Linked DNA regions of Homo sapiens: all the other regions are linked to region 2. The links are contacts of gene promoters, found by promoter capture Hi-C in blood cells and fetal thymus (Javierre and others, 2016). All regions are on one chromosome and are shown on one strand. The core of a region is centred on a gene start or on the middle of the fragment in contact, and the rest is flanking DNA. Distances in the headings are between cores, read along the strand shown.

Region 1 (2,874 bases), core at 372-2,871, 410 kb after region 2:
CAGACATCCAGGACTGGCTTATGAAGTACACAGTCTTGTGTGCTATGTTAAACTATTTGAAATCTATCTGCCGGGTAACAGTATATCACTAGAGGTTTAAATCAAGCGATGGAGCCTCACTTTACAAATCAGTCTGGTATTAGGGAGGAAGACATGGAAGGGTCCAAAATGGGATTTGGGGAAACTATTTAAGAAAATAAGCCAGGCAGATGGTGAAGTAGGCAGATGATGCAGTTCTGAAGCAGGGACAGAGGAATGCAGAGAAGGGTGTATAATCAGGGGTGTCCAATCTTTTGGCTTCCCTGGGCCACACTGGAACAATTGTTTTGGGCCACACAGAAAATACACTAACAATACGTGATGAGCTTTAAAAAAAAAAGAAAAGAAAAGAAAATCGCAAACAAATATCATAATGTTCTAAGAAAGTTTACAAATTTGCGTTGGGCTGCATTCAAGGCTGTCCTGGGCTGCGCGCAGCCCGTGGGTTGGACAAGCTTGGTGTATACTTTCGAAAAATTTAAATCACAAAATCAATAGAAATTTGGGACTGATGAAATGTAAGGATGAAGAAAACTTTTGGGTTTTGGGCTAACGTTACTAGGCAGATCATGGTTTGGACAAATGAGGGCTCAGCAGCAAGAGGAGAAAGGGTAAGGGAAGGTACTAAAGTTACCACAAAATCCTCCTGAGATCATGTGTGAAAGGCAGAGAACATTTCTGCCAAGGAGAATGCACTCAACAGTGAATCCTCACCATTCTGTAACCTACCGAGCTCTTTCATCTTTCTAATCTTTATGGTTTTGCGTACTCTCTTCTCTCTCCTGTACCCACTTCTGATTCTGTCTAGTGAATCCTTCAAGTTCAAGCTTTTGTAATAGCATTTCCTTAAAGTCTTCCAAGATGAGCAGGCCTACTCATTTACTCCATCACACTCCTGAAGAACCCGGTGATGCCCTGAGCACATGACACTGTACTATAGTTACTGGTTTAGTTGTATGCCCTTCTGGTAGTTAAGGAACCACATGGCAGGAACCTTGCCTTCAATCTTGTATTTCCATCTTCTGCCAGAGTGGGTCCTGAATAAGTATCTGTTAAGTCGATTTACAAGCGAATAAACTCTAATGCTCAGCCCTTAGCCTTATGCCTCTGCAGTTTTCCCTCAAATTCTTATCCTGTATAGACTCTCTCACCATGAAAGATGATTCTCATACCTCTATTTTAATTCTTCTTGTCTGTCATCATCCTGTATTTCCAACTGTCCATGGAATATTTCCATTTTATTGGTCCAATACTATCTTACACTGATTTACTTAGAAATAAATCTTCTCCCCCAATTAGCAGCCTTTACTGACCTGTTTCTGTTCATGGCATACTCCCTTATCCAAACAGTAACTAAGTCTTATTTATCCTTCCTTTGTTGTTATCTACTGTGTTTCATTTTTCCCTCTGTTCTATTACCACCCAAGTTCAAACTCTCATAAATGACAAGCTCAATTTTGCAAAAGCTTCTTTAAAAGTCTCTGTCCCAGTCCCCTCCCTAACCAATTGTTTTGTCCTTCTGTTCAGAAACCATCACTGGCTTCCTACTACCCTATTCCTACAGAAAAAAAACCCACACTCACTCTTTTAACGAGGTATTTTTAATTCCAGCAAATTTTCTCGGGACAGATACTCCAGCTTTATCACTTAATGCTCCCTACATGAATCCTCAGCTCTAGCCCAGAATGTCTAATAAATTAAGCTTGAATGACACTTGCACTTGCTTATTTTCAGACGCTACTTTATGCTGCCCTTGACAGAAATGGTCTCACTCTTCCTTGATACTTCATTTAATCCTGAATGAGACCTTTAAGTCACACATGACACCACTCCTTCTCTACGAAAATTTCCTTAACCTCCCAGTCAGAATGATCTCTCCTTCCTCGGGGTTCTTACTGTCTGTGTACCAATACTGTGGTATGGATAGTATTTTTTCATGTGTATGTATCTTTCTCCCCACAACTGGGACATAAGATACCAGATTACCACGCCTACGTGGTGTCTTGTTCATATAAGATAAACAATAAGCACTTGTTCGGATAACTAGAATTTGTGAACACAAATCCAGGCCTATCATAAGTGATTATCCAAGAATTCTATAGAACTTACCCAAATAATATGAAGAAATGAAAGGCCAAATGACCTGTACTAACTCTTTCTCAAAAATATGCAAGCCAAGCATGTGAAGGCTGCAACATTTCCACAGACTCAAAAACATGGCTCCCAAGTCCAGCCTCAATGATATCTACTGGAGCCCAAACTGAGTTTTCATTTCAGGTGGGTGACCACCTCAACTTACCTGTGTAACAGACTGATGTATGTCAGGAAAGTCTCTCCATTTTCATATAAGATGTACAGTGGGTATGCCACTACTTCATCTTTGCCGTTTTGTCCAAATAGAGTCTTTGGGACTGCTGCCAATGGCCCAAAGTCAAATGCAACTGCTGTCTCTCCTAGAGATGCGGTATACGCCCTTCTGGAAAGAGATGTAAAAACCAACTTGTTAAAAACAAAAACAACAAAAAGTAAAAAGAAAAACAAAACAAAACAAAAACACAAAATGTCTAATAACAGGAGGTGGGTATGTATGGAATTTGTAGGCAATGGACTGAAAAGACAAAAAATGATTATGAAGAATGTTAACATTTAAAAATTCTCAGCTGGGTGCAGTGGCTCATGCCTGTAATCCCAGCAATTTGGGAGGCCGAGGTGGGTGGATCACCTGAGGTCAGGAGTTCGAGACCAGCCTGGCCAACATGGTGAAACCCCGTTTCTACTAAAAATACAAAAATTAGTTGGGCGTGGTGGCAGGTGCCTGTAGTCCCAGCTACTTGG
Region 2 (3,265 bases), core at 1-2,500:
AAGGCTGAGGTGGGAGTGTCATCTGAGCCCGGGAGGTCAAGGCTGCAGTGAGGTAAGATCGCACCACTGCACTGCACTCCAGCCTAGGCGTCAGAGTGAGACCCTGTTTCTAAGAAGAAAAAAAAAAAAGCCAGGCGCGGTGGCTCAAGACTGTAATCCCAGCACTTTGGGAGGCTGAGGTGGGCGGATCACTTGAGGTCAGGAGTTCGAGACCAGCCTGGCCAACACAGCGAAACCCAGTCTCTACTAAAAATACAAAAATTAGCCGGGTGTGGTGGCAGGCATCTGTAATCCCAGCTATTCGGGAGGCTGAGGCAGGAGAATCGCTTGAACCCAGGAGGCGGAGGTTGCCGTGAGCCGAGGTCAGCCTGGGCAACAGAGCAAGACTCCGTCTCAAAAAAAAAAAAAAAAAAAAAAAAAGAATACTAGATAAGTTAGGAGAGAGTGCACATAGGCTCCCGAAGGACAGAAGCAGCCAGCTGGAACTGTAGAGGTGAACTAGTATTTATCCAAGGGAACTAGGGATGGGCTGGGAAAGCAGGTGAGGTCAAAAGCGGAGAGAAGTATACCGTGCGGAAGCGGCAGATGGGGCTAGTTGGAGTTGGGCTGAAAGGGCCTAAAGTGGGGTCTAAAGGGGATGTCCTGACTCGGAGGGGGGTCAGCAGAACGCGAGGGAGCAGCGGGAGCTGCGGGGCATTCGGGCCTCAGATAGTTGGGTCCAAGCGGGTGACCTAGATCCAAGGGCAGGATGGAGCTGAAGGAAGCCAGGAAGGATCCTCCACAGTTGACTTCGGGGTAGCCACGGCCTGCGCCTGCGAGGGTGGATGAGGACCCGAGGGTCCGGCTGGGGCTGAGGGGCTGCCTGGAGCCCCGCTGGAGGGAAGCGCCGGGCCGGAGGGCGCGGCCTGCGCCTGAAAGGGCGACGGGGACCCTCGACAGGTGGACCGGGCGTGGCCGGACCTTCCGGGCAGCCCCGCCCGAGGGCACGACTGGGGGCTGCTTCCCTCGAGAGGGGCCCTGAGGTGGTGGGCCCAGGCTGAAGGGCAGGCTGGGGCCTGAGGGACGCCCCGGGTCTGAGAGGGCAGCTCCGGCCTTAGGCGGCACCCGGGCCTGAAGGGGTTGTTTGGGCCTCAGGCGGCGTCCAGGGCGGCCGAACTTGAGGGCCAGGCGGGGACAGAGCGCCCGAGTAGCCGCGCCACGGCCGGCCGCATTTGGCCCCAGCACCTGAAGCAGCTGCGCGGCGAATTCTAGAACTCGGCGGGGCGGGGAGGAGAGAGACGGCGATTCGAGCCGCGGGAGGAGCCGGCGGGCGGTGCTCGTCTGAGGGCGGGGCCTGAGCGGAGCCACCTTCTGGGCGGGCCTCGGCAGGAGGCTCCGCCCCCTGGACGCGCCTCCAACGGCGGCGACGGGAACTGGGCCGGGGCCTGGGTGCCCCCGCGGGTCAGCCCCCGACGTTTCCCTGTTCTTCAGGCGTCTGCAACCCTCCTGGGTTGCGGCGTCTGCTCGCCCTTCTGCGTCCGCAGCTCGGTCCCCACGTTCCCGCTCGCTGGGCCCCACAGGCCAGGAGCGTTGCCCCTTTAACAAGAGTAGCCCGGGTCGCTCCCGGCTCCTTCCCGGGACCGCGCGTACCCGCCCCTCCGCGCGCGCTCGCGCGTCCCCCGCCCCTCGCTCCCGCCCCAGCTCGCGCTGCCCGGGCGGGCGCCGGCCGCTGGCGCCGCTACTGCTGCCGCCCCCGGGGCGCGAGTCCGCCGCCCGCCGCCCGGGCACCCGGCGAGGGGCGGGGGCAGCTCCGAACCGGCCCCAGATCCTTCCCGCTTCCGCCTCACGCTTCCCGGAAAGCTTGTCCCTCTCCGCCGAGCTGCTCCGGGAGCCCCGCCGCGCCGAGGTGAGGGCTGGGGAAGGGGGAGGGAAGGGACGCCCGCGGAGGAATGTGCCGGGTTGGGGGGCGGGGAGCCGGGGTCCGGCGGCGCGATCTAGGCTCAAGAGTCGGGATCATGTGCTGTTTGTTCCGCGGAGGCGCAGAGAGGTGCCAGGCCCGGGCGGCCGCCGGCTGGCTGGACAGGAGGACGGGTCCGCATGGCCGCCCTGAGAGGCCGGGCGGGGACCTGTGTGAGAACCGCCGGGTGGGCAAGGTGCAGGTGGCCCAAGACCCCCTTTCGGGCCGGTCGGCCCCACCCCAGCCGCCCAGTATCCTCCTTGTACCCCACGGCTCCTTCACAGCTGCACCGGCCGACCCCTGTCCCTACCTCTATTCCCTTACCCCGCTGGCCCCCAGCCGTGCCACCCCATCCCTGTCCCATTAGCTGCAGCAACGGCGTCACCATCGCTTGTCCCCACCAGTGTCCTTCCCTCCCCTGGTCAGGGTCTAGGGGGTCAGGGCTGTTCTTCCTGAGCCAGCTTCTGTGATTCCAGCTACTCCCTTCCTGTCCTGGGACAGACCAGCCCCTCACCCTCCCATGCTCTGCCCAGGAAGACTGGTGAGGGGAGGCCCAGCGTGACAGGAGTTTGGGGTCCACTGGGGCCACAGGAGGGGGCTCCGCATCCCTTATCCTTCGTGGTCCTCCTCCCTGTTGTCCGTGGGCGTGGGCTGCTCAGCCTCTCCTCCCAGGGTGTGGGCACCCGATCACCCACATTCCTGGGCTCCAGCCTGGCACCTTCCCCAGGGCAGTGGACGCCATAGCACTAGCCCCAGGTTGGGGCTGGCACCAGCCAGCCGGCTTCCTTTTCTTTCTCCCTTTTAGGGAGGCCCCAGGGACCCTCTACCCTCAAACACAGGTATTTCTGGGCGCCCCAAGGGTGGAGCCCTGAGGGTTGGTCTGATGGCTACAGGATGACCCCACCCTCCCCTGCTCATTGTCCCGGATCCTGAGGAGGAAGTGCTGGGGGCTGGGCAAGGGGCTTAGAGCCCACACAGCTGGCCCTGTGGATCCCAGTCCTGGGCCCTACCTACAGTCCTTGGACTTTGCCCATCTGCACTACTGGCCTGGTGCATGGAGGTTGTGGGCCTCAGGTGGAAACTAGATTCTCCCTTGCCGACACTGTGGGGGAATTTGAGGACAGGTTTTGCATTTGCAGTTTCCTCTCTGGTCTCTCTTCTGGGCTCCCAGTTTGTGCTTTGGCGCCGGAGTTCCCCACCCTGTCTCTTTAACACCGTGTGTTTGCTGTGCTGTGTCTCTTCCTCCTTTCCTCTCCCATTCTTTCCTTCATAGCATGACCTCAGGCTTGCCTTTTGTCTTATTTCTCTAATTTTCTTGGTGTCTGTGAC
Region 3 (2,887 bases), core at 72-2,571, 280 kb before region 2:
ATCAAATCAAGATGCCTTAGCCTTGTGAGGCTGCCTCTTGCTGCCTTTTCTTTGTCCCTTCCTGTAAATACCTCTGGTCCCACTGCTGTTCGAACGCCTCTGTCCCAGAGGCCTAGCTTCGGGGAGGGCAGGGAGTGGGAGGCTGGGACAAGAGTCAGAAGCCCTCACCTCACAACCCTCTTTCCCACCACCAAGCTATGCCACAGATGATGACATTGTGTTTGAGGACTTTGCCCGGCTTCGGCTGAAGGGGATGAAGGATGACGACTATGATGATCAACTCTGCTAGGAAGCGGGGTGGGAAGAAGGGAGGGGATGGGGTTGGGAGAGGTGAGGGCAGGATTAAGATCCCCACTGTCAATGGGGGATTGTCCCAGCCCCTCTTCCCTTCCCCTCACCTGGAAGCTTCTTCAACCAATCCCTTCACACTCTCTCCCCCATCCCCCCAAGATACACACTGGACCCTCTCTTGCTGAATGTGGGCATTAATTTTTTGACTGCAGCTCTGCTTCTCCAGCCCCGCCGTGGGTGGCAAGCTGTGTTCATACCTAAATTTTCTGGAAGGGGACAGTGAAAAGAGGAGTGACAGGAGGGAAAGGGGGAGACAAAACTCCTACTCTCAACCTCACACCAACACCTCCCATTATCACTCTCTCTGCCCCCATTCCTTCAAGAGGAGACCCTTTGGGGACAAGGCCGTTTCTTTGTTTCTGAGCATAAAGAAGAAAATAAATCTTTTACTAAGCATGAGTGTGTGTTTTCTCTGTAGTGTTTAGAGAGTGTATGGTGTGCTTATCCATGATTCTGTTAGCTTGTGGGGGAGGACCCAGTCTCTCTTCTGCACCCAAAAGCCACCTGACACGGAGGCTATCAGCAAATGTTTATTGGATGACTGTGCTGTGGCTGTGTTCCAGGGTAAACATCAAAACTTGACTTAGTCCAAACTCAAGGGTGAGGCTTGATAAGGCCACAAAGTGAACTTAGTCATTTCTAGAGGTCACAGTAACTAAACTAACTCGCCTGCACACAGATGCTCACGGGAGCTAGCCAGGGCAGGCCCTTCCCTGTTGCGGCCGACGCACATGACCACCTGTGACCTGTTGTGACCGAGTCGCGTTCATTTCCACTGCTCCTTATGGCTGCTCGAGCCATCTGCTCCTGTGGCTCAGCGGTGCCACAACCGCAGGCCTCACCAGACAAGCCACGTGACGTCTCTGGAGTCTGGTACCTACATTCTAACACAGAAGCTGAGGCTTGGGCAGCAAGAACGTCATGCTGCCGTGGGCCCCTGTCCTAGGGACCACATCTTAGTGCTGTTCATGGGATATTCATCAGGGACTCCCTGAGGCTTGACCGAAGCCCCAGGCTGGGCTGGAGGGAGGTAGCATCACTCCACGAACATTTCTCACCTCCATCATCTGCTTCCACTCCTGAAGCCCAATCTTTCTCCTAAAGCTCCTTCATGCATTCCACAAACAATCTGGATTTGAGTCCCTACAAAGTACCAGGCATAGTATAGCAGTACAACAACAACAACAACAACAAAAACACATTAATTCATTCCCTTTTTTTTTTTTTTCTTTTGAGACAGAGTCTTGCTCTGTCGTCCAGGCTGGAGTGCAATGGTGCCATCTCGGCTCACTGTAACCTCCGCCTCCCAGGTACAAGTGATTCTCCTGCCTCAGCCTCCGGAGTAGCTGGGATTACAGGCGCCCGCCACAACTCCCGGCTAATTTTTGTATTTTTAGTGGAGATGGGGTTTCGCCATGTTGGTCAGGCTGTTCTCAAACTCCTCACCTCAAGTGGTCCACCCGCCTCGGCCTCCCAAAGTGCTGGGATTACAGGTGTGAGCCACCGCGCCAGGCCTCCCTAGTTATTTAACTACAATATCTTTGCTTCAGAGGAGAAGTACTGGAGCCAGGAGAACGCGTGACAGGGAGTTCTGAGCTAGGTTGGGTTTGGGGAAGATTTCCCTGAGAAAGTGACCTTTAAGCAGAGAAGTGAAAGATGAGGGGAGTTCGGGGACCGTCCAGGGATGAGCATTCTGGGCAATGGCAGTGTCGTGTGAAGGCAGGAGGAAACAACACATCTGGGACCTAAAGAGGCCAGAGAGACTGGGACAGAGACAGCCAGAGGCAAAGTAGTTCCTTCTGGCTGCTGAGCCAGATGGGGACAGCTCGCACAGGCCTTTAGTCTATGTTATGACTCGTGACTTCTAGTTAAATCGCCATTTACCCACAAGCTTTAAGTACTGCCAAAAGGCCCGTGACCTTGCTTACCCCGCCACGGCGGCAGCCTCCCCTGCAGAACCTGGACTTTCTCATGCGGAAGAACGGAAGAACCATCCCGCCTAATACCATCTCCAGCATCCCTCCGACTCCCGTGCACCTGCTCCTTGACCTCTAAGCCCAGGTATCTCAATTTTTTTTTTTTTTTTTTTGAGATGGAGTCTTGCTTTCTCACCCAGGCTGGAATGCAATGGTGCTATCTTGGCTCACTGCAACCTCTGCCTCCCAGGTTCAAGCAATTCTTCTGCCTCAGCTTCCCGAGTAACTGGGACTACAGGCACACGCCACCACGCCTGGCTAATTTTTGTATTTTTAGTAAAGACAAGGTTTCGCCATACTGGCCAGGCTGGTCTCGAACTCCTGACCTCCTGATCCGCCCACCTTGGCCCCCCAAAGTGCTGGGATTACAGGCGTGAGCCACCGCGCCTGGCCGATCTCAAATTTTTTTCAGGAGAATCAGAACCCTCGGGGTGCCATGGTAAAAATCCAGAGTTGGGCTCCACCTTTCCCGATTCTGAGTCACAAGGTCCCAAGAAGAATCCAAAAATCCGGATTTTTAATTAGTACACACTTTGAGAAACTGCCCTTTTTATTTATTT
Region 4 (3,355 bases), core at 617-3,116, 430 kb before region 2:
AAAGGTTCATTTCAATAATTGCAATTAAAAAATAAGCGTGGTCCCATTCATGGAGCTGGAGGGTAGAGCAGTGGTTGCCAGGGGCTGGGGGAGGTGGGCTGGGACTTGTTGTTTAATGTGTGTGGGGTTCCGTCTGGGATGAGTAGCTTCTGTGGATGGCTGCGCAACAGCATGAGCATATTTGGGGCCACTGAAATGATTGTAAATTGGTTAAAATGGTAAATTGTGTGTTATGTATATTGTATCATGATGAAAAAATGCAAAAAAAAAGTATAAGCCAAAAAAACCCAAAACACCCCACAGCCCCTCCCCCAAATGTAAAAGTCCATTTAAAGTTAAAAACTTCTCCCTTGCACCTTCTCAGTCTGTTTTGGGCAAGTAGCATGCAACAGGAAAAGGCTGTGTGTGTGTGTGTGTATGTGTGTGTGTGTGTATGAAAGGGTATGGTGAAGAGGGAGAGACTCTAATTAACTTCTCAATGTACCCTCCAACCCCCACCTGCTCCTACACCCTGGGATTCTCCTCCTCACTCACTTGGCTGCTTTTGTACCCCCAGGGTTGACATGGCGGGGGAAGAGGTAAAAAGGGGCAGGAAAGATCTGATTTTGTATTGTACGAGCTGGTACAGAAGCTTCCTGGGCTTTGTATACAGCTGACTTTTTATCTATTGGGACACTTTTTAAAGTCCTTCCAAGACCTCCAGCCGACCCCATTATTGGGGTCTCACCTCCAATTCCCCGGGTATAGCTGAACTCTTCTTGGCTCACAAGCAGCTCAGGCATCAGTTTCTTGCTGCTGGGGCCGCATCTTTCTCTCCAGGTGGTGTTCCTGGGCAGGTTTTATTCTTTTTTTGTTTTGTTTTGTTTTTTTAAATAACTCTTGCTCAAGGTTGGGCAGGTTTTAATGTGGCCTGATGCTGGTTCTCCCTCCCTCATAGCTCACATCTGGTCCATAGGAAACAATCACACATCCTTTTCCTACAAGAGATTTTAGGGGTACCAGTTTCCAGTGCAGCCAACTCTCTTCAAGATGTGATCAAAACCACTATCAGCCAGCACATCTCTCATGCACTGAATTTAAAAACTTTTTTTTGTAGAGATGGGGTCTTGTCATGTTCACCAGGCTGGTTTTGAACTCCTAGGCTTGAGCAATCTTCCCACTTCGGCCTCCCAAAATGCTGGGATTATAGGCATAGCCACTGCTCCAGGACTTGGATTTTAAAAATCCGATTTATTGAGGTATTTATATATATATATATATATATATTTTTTTTTTTTTTTGAGACGGGGTCTTGCTCTGTCACCCAGTCTGGAGTGCAGTGGCACAATCTCGGCTCACTGCAACCTTCGCCTCCCGGGTTCAAGCAATTCTCCTGCCTCAGCCTCACAAGTAGCTGGGACTACAGGCGCCCACCGCCAAGCCCAGCTAATTTTTGTATTTTTAGTAGAGACAGGGTTTCACCATATTGGCCAGGCTGGTCTCGAGCTCCTGACCTCGTGATCCACCCACCTCAGCCTCCCAAAGTGCTGGGATTACAGGCATGAGCCACCGCGCCCAGCTGAGGTATAATTTACATAAAGTAAAAGTCACCAATTTTTGTGTATATTGCCAGCAACTGACACCACAATTAAGACAACAAAGGAACCGATTGCTCCCGCAGCCAACACTATAGTTCACCATGGAGGACCCCGTGGATAGTTCCAAGCCTCCCTCTGCATGACCATTTCCTGGGCGGAAGTCCTTTGAGCTAAGTGGGAAATTTGGGCAGTACCCAACCTATGTAGATGAACCACATCCTGGCACTGGGGAAGTGGAAAATTTAGAGCACCCAAATTGATGCTCGATCCAACCCATTGATCACACCTCATCCCATCACAGCAAGTTAGGTGTTTCTCTGCTTTTTGTCTGAGGTGTTAACGTGAGAATCTCTTATCTGTAGGACTCTCCAGGGAGTTGTATCTTATGATTCCAGTAGTGGAAAGAACAAAATCAAAACACTGTATGGCGAAATCCTCAACGGGAAGGACCTGGAATTCACATCCTTCGAGATATCATCTGTACCTCAGCACTGTTGTGACCCGGTGGGCAACATAGTAGCAGGGTCGAGGGACAAAATGCATGCTAATAGTCTCTAGGCTCAAAAATGATTCAAGACCCTGATGGTGTCTCTCCAACGACCAACACACAGGGATGGTGCCAACCTGTCACTCAATGACAACGCAGGGCTGGTGACTAACTGGTTTAATTCGAGACCGTGGGTCGGACCACTTGTCTGTGCTTTGATAATGGAGAATTTGAGTCCCTGGAAAAAGCTACTCGACCAGGTTAGACTAGTGGCTGGTAGAGTGCGAATGACAACATGCTATACCATCAAGATGTTCCTGGATCAGTGTACTGACCGATCTATTGCACTACTGTCAGTTGTAACCAAGATTGTTGTATTCGAGGAGAAAGACACTTGCCTGGAAAACACACGGAAAGTTTTTTGAGTATGGGGGAGCCCTGCACCACCCCATTATGATTTGAGGTCTCTCCTCGGATGCTCCCAAATCTGGCAACGGCGGCAAACTATTGGGCTGAAAGACTCAATCCAGTGTATTCTGGATTTAAGGCTCATGACATAATGCCCGGAGCGAATATCACACTTCCACTTACTCAGATGGCTGCCTCTCACTGAGTGTCAAGAGGAACAGGGACGGGCATATGGTCACTCCAGCTTTGAACATCCTAAAGAATTATGGGGTAACAGGCTACAAATGAATACGGTCAGTTCCCTATTAAAAAAAAAAAAGCCGCTCCTCAGACCTCAGCAGCCAAGATGGTGAAGGAGATCGAGAGCAAACTTGCTTTTTAGGAAGCCTTGGATGCCACAGGCGATAAACTTGTAATAGTTGACTTCTCGGCCACGTGGTGTGGGCCTTGCAAAATGATCAAGCCTTTCTTTATCCCCTCTCTGGAAAGTATTCCAGCGTGGTATTCCTTGAAGTAGATGTGGATGACTGTCAGGATGTTGCTTCAGAGTGTGAAGCCGAATGCATGCCAACATTCCAGTGTTTTAAGAAGGGACAAAAGGTGGGTGAATTTTCTGGAGCCCATAAGGAAAAGCTTGAAGCCACCATTCATGAATTAGTCTAATCGTGTTTTCTGAAAACATAACCAGCCATTGGCTATTTAAAACTTGTAATTTTTTTAATTTACAAAAAAATATAAAGCATGAAGACTATAAACTCAAATACCATCTGGGTGACAATAAAACATTATTTCTAACACTTTAAAAAAAGACAAAGACCATTTCCAACAACCAAGCATTTTCCTAGTACCCCTTTGCTCCACCCCTCACCTCTGCTCCTTGACA

What was found. Contacts are between HindIII fragments. The CHiCAGO score rates a contact against its expected background, and 5 or more counts as called.
Region 1: a fragment that was not itself captured here is called in contact with the fragment with the promoter of INCA1 in region 2 in 1 of 17 cell types (naive B cells); the score reaches 5.2 in naive B cells.
Region 3: a fragment that was not itself captured here is called in contact with the fragment with the promoter of INCA1 in region 2 in 3 of 17 cell types (neutrophils, erythroblasts and M0 macrophages); the score reaches 5.6 in neutrophils.
Region 4: a contact is called between a fragment that was not itself captured here and the fragment with the promoter of INCA1 in region 2, in 1 of 17 cell types (neutrophils). The highest score is 6.6, in neutrophils.

The regions. Positions count from the first base shown.
Region 1 is chr17:5,406,395-5,409,268 of GRCh38, forward strand. It overlaps NUP88 (nucleoporin 88), which reads right to left. Exons shown (of 17, transcript NM_002532.6): 5 at 2,339-2,515. Among named protein-coding and RNA genes, the nearest start is that of NUP88, 12 kb to the right of the region's middle. The HindIII fragment of the contact is 236 bases long and covers 1,504-1,739 here.
Region 2 is chr17:4,996,272-4,999,536 of GRCh38, forward strand. It overlaps INCA1 (inhibitor of CDK, cyclin A1 interacting protein 1), which reads right to left and starts at 1,251. Exons shown (of 7, transcript NM_001394789.1): 1 at 1,225-1,251. KIF1C (kinesin family member 1C) reads left to right here and starts at 1,679. Exons shown (of 23, transcript NM_006612.6): 1 at 1,679-1,885. RefSeq lists silencers at 992-1,081, 1,122-1,991, 2,042-2,141. The HindIII fragment of the contact is 6,815 bases long and covers 1-1,837 here.
Region 3 is chr17:4,720,751-4,723,637 of GRCh38, forward strand. It overlaps ARRB2 (arrestin beta 2), which reads left to right. Exons shown (of 15, transcript NM_004313.4): 15 at 196-747. The coding sequence ends at 289. Among named protein-coding and RNA genes, the nearest start is that of MED11, 9.2 kb to the right of the region's middle. The HindIII fragment of the contact is 1,837 bases long and covers 404-2,240 here.
Region 4 is chr17:4,569,388-4,572,742 of GRCh38, forward strand. It overlaps the pseudogene TXNP4. Among named protein-coding and RNA genes, the nearest start is that of GGT6, 10 kb to the left of the region's middle. The HindIII fragment of the contact is 2,474 bases long and covers 630-3,103 here.